Regions from separate parts of the Homo sapiens genome. Here all the other regions are linked to region 1. The links are contacts of gene promoters, found by promoter capture Hi-C in human tissues and cell types (Jung and others, 2019). All regions are on one chromosome and are shown on one strand. The core of a region is centred on a gene start or on the middle of the fragment in contact, and the rest is flanking DNA. Distances in the headings are between cores, read along the strand shown.

The links. Contacts are between HindIII fragments. The study calls those that stand out against the background at their distance.
Region 2: a fragment that was not itself captured here is called in contact with the fragment with the promoter of CD180 in region 1 in 1 of the 25 tissues and cell types used here (dorsolateral prefrontal cortex).
Region 3: a contact is called between a fragment that was not itself captured here and the fragment with the promoter of CD180 in region 1, in 1 of the 25 tissues and cell types used here (dorsolateral prefrontal cortex).
Region 4: a contact is called between a fragment that was not itself captured here and the fragment with the promoter of CD180 in region 1, in 1 of the 25 tissues and cell types used here (dorsolateral prefrontal cortex).
Region 5: a fragment that was not itself captured here is called in contact with the fragment with the promoter of CD180 in region 1 in 1 of the 25 tissues and cell types used here (dorsolateral prefrontal cortex).

Annotation. Positions count from the first base shown.
Region 1 is chr5:67,195,422-67,198,092 of GRCh38, reverse strand. CD180 (CD180 molecule) reads left to right here and starts at 1,294. Exons shown (of 3, transcript NM_005582.3): 1 at 1,294-1,541. The coding sequence starts at 1,452. RefSeq lists an enhancer at 2,321-2,470. The HindIII fragment of the contact is 16,000 bases long and covers 1-2,671 here.
Region 2 is chr5:68,970,240-68,972,910 of GRCh38, reverse strand. LINC02198 (long intergenic non-protein coding RNA 2198) reads left to right here. Exons shown (of 4, transcript NR_130778.1): 2 at 1,834-2,671. The region is part of intron 1 of LOC107984116 (a long non-coding RNA gene); the gene reads left to right. It also overlaps the pseudogene RN7SKP251. Among named protein-coding and RNA genes, the nearest start is that of LINC02198, 58 kb to the left of the region's middle. The HindIII fragment of the contact is 4,273 bases long and covers 1-2,671 here.
Region 3 is chr5:68,724,120-68,726,790 of GRCh38, reverse strand. The region is part of intron 2 of LOC105379013 (a long non-coding RNA gene); the gene reads left to right. Among named protein-coding and RNA genes, the nearest start is that of LINC02198, 300 kb to the left of the region's middle. The HindIII fragment of the contact is 3,096 bases long and covers 1-2,671 here.
Region 4 is chr5:68,629,950-68,632,620 of GRCh38, reverse strand. All of the region lies in intron 2 of LOC105379013 (a long non-coding RNA gene), which reads left to right. Among named protein-coding and RNA genes, the nearest start is that of LINC02198, 400 kb to the left of the region's middle. The HindIII fragment of the contact is 3,424 bases long and covers 1-2,671 here.
Region 5 is chr5:68,561,901-68,564,571 of GRCh38, reverse strand. All of the region lies in intron 3 of LOC105379013 (a long non-coding RNA gene), which reads left to right. The region is part of intron 1 of LOC105379011 (a long non-coding RNA gene); the gene reads left to right. Among named protein-coding and RNA genes, the nearest start is that of PIK3R1, 350 kb to the right of the region's middle. The HindIII fragment of the contact is 3,292 bases long and covers 1-2,671 here.

The DNA of each region.
Region 1 (2,671 bases), core at 45-2,544:
ACAACATTCTTCGCCCCATCTACTCTTCAGCTCCTTCAGGAGGCAAAGTCCTTTCTTAAACTGTGAAGAGTAGCAGCATAGTCTCTGCAGTGAGATTTTCTGGATCTGAAGCCCTAATCTACCACTCTCTAATTGTGTGGCTTGGAGAGATCATTTAATTTCTCTTAAGCATCAGTTTCTACATCTATAAAATGAGGGAAATAATAATATCTCTCTTATAGAATATATGGAAATATTCGAGGATAGGAAAATGCAGCAAAAAACTGCATTAAACCTGACCCAGTGTCTGACACATAGTAAGGACTCAATAAATGGCAGATACTATAGTCATTTGATTCATCATAGTAATACTGTAGAGGTGGTGGTGGTGGTGGTGGTGGTAGTAGTAGTAGTAGCAGTAGTTAAGTCATTGTGAACTCTGATACTAAGAACTGGGCTCTTGGAAATGGAGTGGGAGAACAGTAACACCAAATATATCCTGTATGCCAGAGGGTTGAAGAACAGACAGAACAGGTAGCTAAATGCAGCCTATTGAGGAATGTTTGAACTTTGGCTTTCTTTAATCATTGCCACATCTTGCTCCATAATAAGGGTAATTGTAATCCTGCTTCAAAGCTATTTCTAAGAAGAAATAGAGCCAAGGCTGGCATCCCTAACTCTACTCTCCTTTAGCCAGGCTGCTCTATCTATGGCAGTGTCCCCTACTTCCCCAGGCCAGGTTAGGAGGGAACAAGAGAGTCCACCCCAACTGCTTTAACAAGCCTGAACCGCCAGGTCAAGAGATGAAGTAATCTTCCCCCTATACGAAGACCAGAGGTGGGGATGGACAAGGTGGCCAAGGCAGCAGCTGAGGCTCAAGGAGCAGATACACTCTCAAGCCTGCTCCCTCCTGCTCCAGTTCCCAGCTCAGCAGGTGCCACTGAAGGGCTCAGTTCTTCAGTCTGCCCCTGCAGAGTGCTCTGCCCTTCCATGTTCTCTGACACCTCTTCTATTCACTCACCTAGGACAACTAAGAAAGTGGCCTCCTTGGTGAGTAGAGCTTCCACAGCCTCTCTCGGGGAAAAGGACCAGAAGCTGTTGGAGTTGGCCAAATGCTTGAAGTTGGCATAAAGTCAATTGGAACCATCACAATGAGAGTCTGTGTGATCAGCCCAAAAGGACTGCACAACTGATTCATGTTCAGTGCCAGGAAATGCAACGGGCCATTCTGGGGTTGGGTCCTCAGTTATTTTTGGCAAAGATGGGTGGTATGCAAAAGGGACTTCCTTTTTTTTTTTTTTTTTTTTTTCCAGCACAGAGCCACAGAATGCTGAGCAGTCAACAGCATTTCTTGTTCCAAGATCACCCTTCTGAGTACCTCTCTGGCTGCCAAATTGCCAGGGCCTTCACAGTTTGATTCCATTTCTCAGCTCCAAGCATTAGGTAAACCCACCAAGCAATCCTAGCCTGTGATGGCGTTTGACGTCAGCTGCTTCTTTTGGGTGGTGCTGTTTTCTGCCGGCTGTAAAGTCATCACCTCCTGGGATCAGATGTGCATTGAGGTGAGTCCAAACTGTTTGTCTTTATGCAGATTAAACTGTCTGAAAATTTTGAGATTTAGCACGCAGTCCAATCTGAGCCTTGGCATCCCAATATCTAGTGTCTTTAAAAAGGAAATAAGGTGTATATATAATTTTTTCATTATTGTGAGAAAGGAGCCAAAGAACTCTGCCAGGGGATCATCTGGTGGCATCTTAATAGGAAGCAAAGAGAATTTTTCTCCTCTTCAAACAATTCCACCCAAATAATCCCAAGTGGGTCATAAGATATTAATAGGGTCTGTGTGCACAAAGCAGACCCCTAAACCTGCCTCAACCTAGGGGAGCTGTTGGTTTAACATCCCCACTCTCACATGGCCTCTATCCCAATGAGTCCTTTGGTCTCCTCTCAGGGTGAGAATTAGTAAAGACAGCGCTGTGCCAGGTTTTCGAGCATTGAAAAGATCACTCTGAATGAGTCTGGCTCTCTCTTGGACTTGGACAGCCTTCCATCTGTTTTACTAACCCATAGGAGGAAAATCTGAGAATAGAGCCAAATTGCACCTTCTGTTTTGGACCATAGCAATATTTATCAACCTGTGGGAAGTTCTTGGAGGGGATAATGAGAGAAAAAGGAGAAGGGCCTCCGTCTCTTGCCATCCTCTAAAATGCTTCAAACTTCCTCCCACTTTCTCTGACCCCACAAGTGATCAATACCACGTGGCCTGTCAGACAAGGGCTGCATACAGGAGGAACCATGAGTCTTGGTGGCTTGGTGAGCTGCTGGTCTGGGTTGAGGTAAAAAGAAGAGTAAGAGCCAGGAATAGCCAGATGTGGAGTTGCCCTGGGGCAGGACTAGAAGGAGATCAGAGGATCAGGAAGAGCAGAGCAAAGCCAGCACTGGGGTAAGGCTCAGAGCTGGGTGAGCAGAGCCTTGTTGGTCTGGCATTAGGATGGAATCAGCAGCAGGCCAAGAGGAGGCATCATGCCAATGAGAAATGAAGGCTGGGAAGGTGTGTGTTGCTTTGCTTGGGCTGTCATAACAAATGCCACAGACTGGGCCAGGCGTGGTGGCTCACGCCTATAATCCCAGCACTTTGGGAGGCCAAGGTGGGTGTATGCCTTGAGACTGGGAGTTCGAGACCAGTCTGGGC
Region 2 (2,671 bases), core at 47-2,546, 1.8 Mb before region 1:
TGGAGATAGCCCTTTGATTAGACATGTTCTTTTTTTTTTTTTTTTTCTTTTTTTGAGATGGAGTTTCGCTCTTGTTGCCCAGGCTGGAGTGCAATGGCGCAATCTTGGCTCACTGCAACCACTGCCTCCCGGGTTCAAGTGATTCTTCTGCCTCAGCCTCCCGAATAGCTGGGATTACAGGCATGCGCCACCATGCCGGCTAATTTTGTATTTTTAGTAGGGATTGGGTTTCACCATATTGGTCAGGCTGGTCTCAAACTCCTGACCTCAGGTGATCTGCCTGCCTCAGCCTCCCAGAGTGCTGGGATTACAGGCATGAGCCACTGCGCCTGGCCTGACTGGACATGTTCTAAGGAGTGGATGGAAAGATTTGGAGTGAAATCATTTTCTGTGTATACTTTCAATTAATTTCTGTGAGTTCACCCCGAGCCTTGATTTGTACTATACAGAGCCTTATGTCCTGAGAGTGGGAAGAGAAGAGGCAGAGCAACTGCTCTTACAGAAACTTCCCCCTTACCCTCATTCCTCTCTTTTCTGTTTTGTATCTCATCCCTGCCCACTGGTCTACGTGGGACCTGAGCCTCTTTAATTTGCTTTGTTGGTGAATTGTCTCTTTTCTTACTGTATTTCTGCCTGCATCCTCTCTGCACACCAGTTCCAGTAGTTCTGTGACATAACATTCGGGATTTTCCTGATGCAGATTATTGACATCTCTGTTTCCATCTCTTGGATTTAATGCACTTGGTTTTAAGGAGAGGCTTTCTCATACTTTAGTAAGGTTTGCAGTGACTGATAAGGCAATGGAGTTGTTTCTCTTGATCAGAGAAATTTTTTTTTAAAATGTTGGTTGATTTTTTAAAATCCATAATTGCTTAAAACAACATTAGAAAATAGAGACAAGCAAAAAGAGAGGAAAATCATTCACAGTTCTGTCACCTATTTTGGTGTACATTCTTCTAACTAAAAAATGCATCTCTATGTTTATAAGTAATATGGAGTTCTATAAAAGCGATTATGCTGTAGTTACTTGTCTGTCTGTAAAATGTATCTTTTCTCACTTATTAATACAAGATGACTGTATTCTCGGGTCCATAACTATAGATGCACAGCATATTCCATTGTATCAATTACCCATTTTAGAGCATTTAGATTCTTGTCAACATTTTGCTATTTAAACAGTGTTGCAATGAACACGCTTTTGTATATTTATGTTCATTTGTTAGGAAGAATTCTAACAAGTTCTAGAGGCCTTTTGGTTGTCTTTAATCAAAGAGGGACAAAAAGCTGAGGGAAGTGCTGTTGGGACTATGCCCTGGGAAGTGCCAGGCATGTAGCAGGACCTGGGTAAATGTTACTAAGTGAATGAAGGTCGAAGTTAGCATGAGGAGTTTTGGTAACATGGATGAAAAAATAGCTCTGAAGACTGAGGAGACAACTTGGAAACAGAACTTTGTGTTCACAAAGAAGGGTTCTGTGAAACTCTGAAAACCTAGCAGTGTGTTTCATAAGCAACAAGTCTCACCCTTTTATCCAGTTTAGTCACTGAAACAAAATAGAATTTTTTTTAGGTCCAAGTGATTGAACGAATTAGAATACATAATGCCTACTCTTATGTTTGGAATCATCTTCATCTCTCTTTATTACACTTTCCATCATGTATTCTGGTGGTCTACTTTACCCTCTGTTGAGGTTATGGAACAGGGTTGAGGTGAGGAAGTAAATATTTGAAAAATTAAAGCAACTAGCTAGCTGGGAAAAAAAAGAGAAAGTATAAAAATCTTCCTCTTATTCCCTGTTTTCTTTATGTTTCTTTTTCTTTTTTGAAATTTCCAGTCTTTGCTACAGCAGTGTGTTCCTCTCAAGTCACCCACTCGTTCCTCCAGGGGTCATTGGAGAGTTATTATTTTAAGTCTAGTTCCCAGGTATGACTTCCAATGCAGTGAAAGCTTCTACTGAGACTGTCTAAAACATCTCTTGAATCATCTGCCTAGAACACAGCAAGAACCAGGAAATGAGCTGACAAGACTGAGCAAAAGAGGCAGCATCAAGCTGATGAACTGAGGCGTGGGCATTTTACTCATGGGAAAGGCCCTCGGAACCCACGCTGAGCATGCGCTGAAAACAAGTGTGATCAGTGGGTTCCAAACACCCAGCAGATACATGTGAGGGTGATCTGGCTGTGACTTCTGTCACCCCCTTGATTACCAGGGTTGATTCAGTTGATCTGGCTGGCTAGGTGGGTGTCCCTTTCCCCACTTACTGCTCCATGTGTGTCCCTCCTGAATCTGTGCGCTTGGTTGAAGAGGATGACCATCCCGGATAGAGGAGGACCAGTCTTTGGTCAAGGGTATACAAGTAGCTGTGCCCGCTTGCTAGAACCTCCAAACAAGCTCTCAAGGTCCAAACATCCAGCAGATAATTAGCAATGGATTAGAAAAGGGAGCTGGGAAGGTGGAAGGAAGCAGAAACAGTGAGCCCCCGAATGAAAGAGACAGAAAAACTGAAACCTCAGAAGAGAGCAGTGTGGGGCTAATGAACCTAGAGGCAAAGGGCCCTACCCATCAACAGCCCCCATGAAGGTAGTCACTGGGGGGCCTGAGGATGCACCATCAGGGAGAAGTTCAGTTCAATGTAATCTGTGGAAGAAAGCAGAGAGCACAGCCTGTCATGG
Region 3 (2,671 bases), core at 46-2,545, 1.5 Mb before region 1:
GACAGTAGAAAGGATATGAATTGATTGGTACAAAAAGTAACAAGGCTAAAGAAATTAGGGTAATAAAACTCCCCTGTAAAATCTAGCAAAGTAGAGAAAAGGGTGGCTATTACCAGGTGAAACATAGCAACTGGAGGGGTAGCCTTTTCTGGAAGTTGATGTAGGTACAGGCATCTCTGAATTCAAGAAAAAAAAAAAAAAAGGCTTTTCTTGTCCATGCTGAAGCTCCTGTTAAAAGACGCGTTAGTGAGCCTCCATCCCTGAATAGCTATGATGCAACTCCACCTCTGACATCCTTAAAGCATTTCCTCTGACGGAAGATCACAAACTTAGCCTATTCAGGTTGACTTGAAGCCTACTACTTCCTGCCTAAACCAAAATAACTATGAGCCAAGTCAAAGGATAAGATAGTTTTGAATCGATCAGTAGAAAAGATGATAATGAGATGGGTGCCATCAAGAATACGTTGCTTCCACAGATGGGTCCCAGAGTCTTCTGCCCATGCTGAGTAAATAGGGCAGGGAGAAAAGACCTCCCAGGAGATATATGTGGATCACGAGCAGTTCTCTGTGACTACCTACTGGCACCCTCCTTCCAGGAATGAACTCACCCACTGACTTCAAGAGAGTGCAGCCCATGCCTGCTGTTGACCACAGTCTTGTTACCAACACCTTATGGTTAACTGAATCAAAAGCTTCCGACAGGTCTAAAATTAGCCCAGCTAAACATATCATTAAGGAGTTAGGGAGGAGTGTGAATGACCTTCCTTCAGCCCTGTCTCCCATATCCAGTCAGCTGTGGGGGCTCATTGGAGTGCTAAATTGGGCTTTTAGGCTCTGGAAATAAATGACCCTTTAGATTGATTTTTTTTATTGCCTGAAGGTGCATATTTTTGGAAAGTTGGGAAGCGTTCTGTTCATCTATTTTGAATCATTTGAGTATAAAAATGTGGCATTTTCACACTTTGGGATATTCAAGTCCCCTATTCCTTTTTTAAAGTCTCTTAATATTTTTTCAAACCTTTCAAATTAGTTTATTTAAAGGCCATATTTGATTTCCTCACAGTTTCTGAGGTAGAAATGTAACTTTACCAGCTTTGAGGGGGAACAGTCATGGTAGTTCACCATATAGAAGTTATAAATAGGTAGGAATACTATTCTAAGCATTACATTTCTGGTAGGAATTTAAATACCCATGGAGAAGAGTGGCAGAGGCAGGGTCTCTGTGTGTACTTTTTTACACATACCTTTAATGGAAAACTAAAAAGTTAATTCTCTTTATCTTTGCTATTCAGGGACACCCTTATCCTCCATTTCTTTCCAAGTTGCCAGGATAAAAAGACCCAGGGGAAGAAAATAAAGATGACATGGTAGCATTTCTGAACTCTTGCTTGACATGAGCCAGACTGGTTCAATTTCTTTACTTTCCAGCCCAATTATTTTGAAATTCATTTGTCTTCTCACTAAGCCAGCATGTCCCAGTGTATGTTTCCTAGAACATCAGGTCTGCAGGATGTTAATAGATGTCACTTGGAAAAAGAGTTTTGAGTTAAACAGATTTCTTTTCTGCTGGGCTTCTTTCTCAGGTTTCCTAGTGTGTGATGTGAATCTTCAAGAAGGAAATATGGTATGTAACATGTCCCAGGTTTGTTGGCCCTGGATGGCCTTCTTTCCTTCCTTCCTCTATTTTCTATTTATTAAACCAAGTATCTACAGGATTGGTGCTTTGGGGAGTGCAGCCTGGGAAGTAATAGGTGATGGTATTTGAAATTTCAGAATTCCATCTCTTTCAGTTGACTGAGCAGCTCAGCTTCCGAAAGTGATCATCTAGACTGGATACTGGTGTGTTCCAGGTCTCCCACCACTGGATGGTGGCCCTGGACAGTCACTTGTCCTCCCTGAGCCTCATGTGTATAAAATTAGAGAGCTGGGCTGAATGGCCTGTAGGGCCACTTATAATACCCCCTCCCCAAGTTCCTGCAAGGTGGACAGTAGTCCTGGGACTCTACTACTCTGCCCCTCAACCACAGCTGCTTGGACTAGGGATAGAATGATGTTATCTGTTCAGGTTTGAGGGATGTACTTTTTTGGTTTCTTCTTTTTTGGATATTGCCAAAAAGTCATCAACAGTCAAAGCATAAATCTAAGAAATTTTAGACTAAAGGAAATCCTTTAATAAAGGGCAGGTATCTGAAAATAGAAGCTTGGCCAGAAAGCGGCTCCTCTGCCAGGATTTTAATGGAGGCTTCACAGTACAGCTAAGGTCCTTTTCATGATTTTTAATTAAAGTGTGTCTATCCTAATGCTGTAATTATAAACAGACTCTTGTCAAGTCAGAGAGCATTTGCCCTTCAATCATTGTATTTCAAGACACTGTCTACTTTTGACAAGTGATAAATGTCTTTAGTTTGGAGTCTACTATAGAAAAATGTAGCTTTTAGAGTTGTGTCATATTCTCTCTGTTTCTTCCCCCTCAAACCCAGAGCCTGCTACAAATATTTGAAAAGCCCTGACTGGATGTAAGGCTCATATTCTATTTGAAGACACCAGACTCTAAACCCCTCTGGGCTTCAATTTCTTGTCTGTGAAGTGAGATCCTGATTATACTGTCTTGGGAGGCACACCACCAAAGGTTTCTCCATCCTTCTCTAGATCGAAATTTACCCACCTCA
Region 4 (2,671 bases), core at 111-2,610, 1.4 Mb before region 1:
GCTCAACTCAGGTGGAACAGCTTAGCATTTGCAATTCCTGCTAAACCTCAGAGAAAAGCTTACTGAATCAGATAAAAACATTGCCAGTCTGTCAACACACATAACTTCACAGTTTTTGTTTTTCTTCTTTGTTCCAGTAACATTTCTATAACTTGGGCTGCCCAGGGCTTGCTTGGCATAAACCCACCTGGAAGCTCACGGGTAGAGGGGTTCACAGTAAGAAAATGTAACTGCTGGGTACCCAGAGCCCTTTCATGTGTGAGAAAGTTCTGCTTGCAGGGTGGCAAGGATCAGGATCAGCATGTGCTTTCTATCCACTGGTAAAACGTGGATTGGAGAAATACTGCCTTTTCCTTCAGAATGCTTTGGTGTCTGGACACATGACAAGCCTCAGAAGCTTTGATCTTACTTTAAACTGGTCTCCCATCTTATTTTTATTTGAACAGAGTTTGTGGCAGTCAGAGGATACATAAGGGTGGCGTCCTTTGACCTCCCTGATGTTTGGGAGGTAAACCACCTCCATCCCTCAGACCAGGAATGTAGTCATGTGAATTGATATCTGCAGAGTGCCTGACACAGCTGGAGGGCTAGGCCAAGCCAGCTACAAAAGAACTTGAGGTGTGGGAAAGTTTCTTAGGGCATAGTAATAGCTGTATGGCAAAGCCGAGGATAAAGTTGCTACTGTCTGCTTGTTCATTCACAAGTACTTATTGAGCTTCTGCTATATATTGGGTGATAGGCTGGGCCTGCAAATAGCATAAAACTATTAACTATAGAGTAAAACAGCCTTCCTGCTTTCAAGGAGCTCATGAGAATGAATGAGACAGGTAAGTAAATGGATCACTTAGAACCCAAGAGAGATGGTGATGCAAGAGGAATGAAGAGAGCATTGCAGGGACGTAGAGGAAAAGCGCCAGGATCGAGGAAGCTTCCAGAGGAGGTGAGGCTGAGTTAGGAGTAAAAGGATAAGTGGTGTGTTGCTGCCAGGTGGTGGAAGGAGGGGAAGAACATTCCTTTCCATGGAGGGGCAGCCAGCATGGCAGGTCTGGGGTTGGGGGTGGCTTCTCTCTGAATGTGGCCCAAATACTGTTGACTGTCCCCAGACTGTGTCAGTGTCAGGTGCCTTTTCAGCCACTGACAGTGAGGTGTGGCTGCCTTGTTTGTAGCCTTTGATAGAAGTGTAAGAGACTACGTTCAAGAAATAAACCAAAAATATCTGAATTCAATGGCTAGTAGGTACTTTCTGTTACATCCAGATCTTTTTCTTCTTCATAAACTTTTAAAAGAACAATAACGCAATTATTTCTAATTATGAAGCCAACTCATGGTTATCATTAACATTTCAAGCAACACATAAAAATAGAAAGAAGAAAGCATCCCCCAAGCGCTTCAACTTAGAGGTCACCACTGTTAACATTTTGTGAGCATCCTTCCATATACCCACAGAGAAACACTTCTATAGAAATGGCATGCAGAGCAGTTTAACAGGTGTATTGTGCCAGGGCTGTGCAAAGCACTTGGCAAATAGCAATGAACACAAAAGATAGGGGCCCTGATTAGTGAAGTTTCACCTTCAGGCTTAACTTAGGGTAGACTCCCGCAAAGGTAAAACTGATTGCAAAAACCCATGTGGAGTTGGAGCCCTTCCCATTATAGGGCCTTTGCACAAGCTAGTTTCTCTGCCTGGATTGGTATCTATTCCCAATAGGTATAATTCGATGATATATATAATTAATGAAAGTATGTTTTCTGCTGTATGGTTAAGGCATTGATTCATTATTGTTTTTAATCAATGACATATTGCTAGATTTTTAGCTTGTTTTACTTTTTTCTATTTTAAACAATTCTGTTGCAAATATCCTTTTATATACATTTATCTTAGGATGAATTCCTAAAAATGGAATTATGAGATCAAATAATATGCACACTAAGTTTTTGGTACATGTTACCAAATAGATGCGGCCCTTCTGAAAGTTTCTATCAACAGTATACAAAATACCATTTTCCATGTCCTCTCAAACACCAAAAATCCTCTGTTTATAAAACCTTTGACCATCTGATGAAACTTTACTTTTATTTGTTTGCTAGTTATGTTGACCATTTTTCCTTTGTTTATTCATCCTTTGTATGTCTTCTTTTGTGAATGTCCTCTTTCTATCCTTTGCCTATTTTTTTCTAATGAGATACTGGTCTTTTTCATATTAATGATTTGCAAATGCTCTTTGTATATGGTATTAAGAGCATTAATGCTTAGACTACAATACATGTTGCAATTTTTTTCATGTATCATTTGACATTTTATTTTTATGTTGTCTTTTTGCCATAGAGATGCTAAAATAAACAAACAAAATTAATGTAGTCACATCTAATCACTTTTTCTTTTATGGTTTTGTATTTTTATGTCATCTTCTTCAACCAGTTCTTATCATAGGGGCAAATGGAAAACTTCCCCCTTGCCGTCTGAAGATTTGCTAAAAATCAACTGACAAAAGACAGATTAATAGAAGAAAGGGTATGCAAAGCTATTAATGTGTGTGGGAGTCATATAAAATAGAACTTAAAAAATGTCCAGATGGTTGATGCTTTTATACCATCTTGAAGTTCCAGAAAGAATGGGGGTTTGGTGAGTGGCAAAACATGTATGGGACGGGAAGAGGAATCCTTGCTAGCA
Region 5 (2,671 bases), core at 119-2,618, 1.4 Mb before region 1:
ACCATATGTTGGAAATTTTTCCTTTTACCACTGAAATGTCTTTGTACCCTTGCTAAAGCCAATTGATCACATATGTGTGATCCATATCTGGACTTTGTATTCCATTCCATTTTTCTAGATGTTTACTTTTATGCTAACCCTACATTATCTTGAGCTCTGTAGTTTTGTAATAATTCTTGACGTAAGGCATATAAGGCCTCCAGCTTTGTTCTTACTTCAAGATTTATTTTGCTATTTTAGGTTCATTGCATTTCCATATACATTTTAGAATGAGCTTATCAGTGTCTACGAAAAGATTGCTAGAACCTATAGATTAATTTGGGAAAAAGTGGTATTTAATAGTCTTGTGTCCTCTACTCTGTGAACACGGTAGGTAGCTCCATTTATTTAGGTCTACTTTAATTTCTCTTAGTAATGTTCTGTAATTTTCAGTAGATGCTGTTTCATAGCTATTGTTAAGGGTTTTTTTTTTTTTTGATTTTGTTTTCCTCTTTTTTTATGAGCAAATAGAAACACAACTAATTATTTCTGTGTAAAGTATTATGCCCCAAAGTCAAGTGGCTTAAAACAACGAGCACTTATCTCTTGCCATTTCTGTGGGTTTGATATTCAGGTGTAGCTTACTTGGTTTTGCTGTGGGTCTCTAATGAAGGTTCAGTCAAGATGTTGACTGGGCCTGGAGTCATCTAAAAGCTTGACTGACGCTGCAGGGTCTGCTTCCAAGATGGCTCACTCATGTGTCTGGCAAGTTGATGGTGACTTGGATAGGAGGCCTCAATTTCTTTACATATGAGCTTCTTCACAGAGCTGCTTGAGTGTCTTCATGACATTGTAGCTGGCTTCTCTCAGAACAAGTGATTCAAAAGAAAGCAAGGCAGAAGCTGCAGTGCCTTTTGTGATCTAGACTCAGAAGTCACATGCCATTATCTCCACAATATCCAATTGGTCACACAGGTCAGCACTATTTTGTATGGAAGGAAACCATACAACGGCATGAATACCTGCAGATGAGGGTCACTGGAAGCCATCTTGAAGGTTGGCTATCACACTTGGTGTGGTGTTTTTTTGTGTTTGCCCTGCATTTCTCATGCTTTTTGAACATGTAGGCTTATTATTTTTATCAATTTTAGAATATTTTCAACTATTATTTCTTTAAATTTTTTTTTACTTCTTCCTCTCTTATCTCTCAATCTGAGACTCCAATTACATGTACGTTAGACTGCTTGTCTGACAGCTTACTAAAGTTTCATTCATTTTTTTCCAGCCTTTTTGCTCTCTGTGCTTGATTTAGGATAGTTTCTATTGCTATATCTTCAAGTTTGCTGGCCTTTTTTCTACAGTGTCTTATCTGCTGTTAAGACCATTAAGTGAATCTTTTTTCACTTCAGATATGTTATTTTTGAACTCTAGAACATTTGTGTGGCTCCTTTTCATATATTCAACTTCTTTATTTATGTCCTTGCTTTCTCTTAAATTGCTGGGTTTTGATAGTAGTTCTTTTAAAGTTCTTGTCTGCTAATTGTACTTCTTAGCCACTTTTGGGTTTATTTCCATTCGCTTATTTTTCTCATGATTAAGGGTCACATTTTGCTACTTCTTGGCATATCTAACAATTTTTTATTGGATGTTAGATGTTAGGAATGTTATATTATTGACTATTTGGATTTTGTTATCGTCTTTTAGAGTGTTGATATTTGCTTTGGCAGGCCGTTACTTGCATATCAGTTTTATCCTTTTGAGCCTTATTGTTAAGCTTTGTTAGGATAGGTCTAGAGTAGCCTTATTGTAGTGTTAGTTTATTCCTACTACTAAGGCTTGGCTTTTCTGTAGTCTTTATTGAATACCTAGATATTCAAATGGAGTCTTTCCACTCCAAGGAATAAAACGTTGAATGTCATTCAGCCCTGAATGAGCTCAGAGAATTGTTCCGATAGAAAACCCCGGCAGTTGTTCTTTGCCTGGATTTGTGGAGTTCACTTACACATGTGCAGTTTTGGATTCAGCCACTCAATGGGACTCTTATGCAGGTTTCTGGCATTCTTCCTTTGTGTAGCTCCTCCTTCTCTGGAATGCTGCCCTGTAATTTCCAGCTGCCTCAGCCTTTCTGAGCTCCTATCTCTCCTCAATTCAGAGAAACTGCCAAGCTCTGCATGGGCCCCCTTTCCTGCCCTGAGGTTAGGAAATTGTTTCCAGGCTGCAAGTCATGCTTTCAGGGATCATAGACCTACACTGCCTCTTGTCTAATGCTGGAAAACAGACATTTTATATATTTCATTTAGTTTTCTAGTTGTTTATGGGTTTTGGAGGAGGGTGTGCAAAGACCATGCAATTACTACTCCTTCATGGAAGGAAGCAAAAGTCCTTCCCCTTTTGATTTTAAAATACATGGCTACTTGGGGGGCTGAGGTGGGAGGATCGCTTGAGCCCAGGAAGTGGAGGTTGCAGTGAGCTGAGATCATACCACTGCACTCCAGCCTGCGTGACAGAGTGAGACCTTGTCTCAAAAAAACAAATAAAATAAAATAAAATAATAAAATACATGGGAAGAAGTATTAAAAGGAAAAGAAAACAATTCCAAATAATAAAACTAGTATTAGCTAGAGTGTATAAAAGCAGGCCACATTAAAAAACTACTGGTTAAAATTTAGATTAGAACAATCTTTGGAGTGTA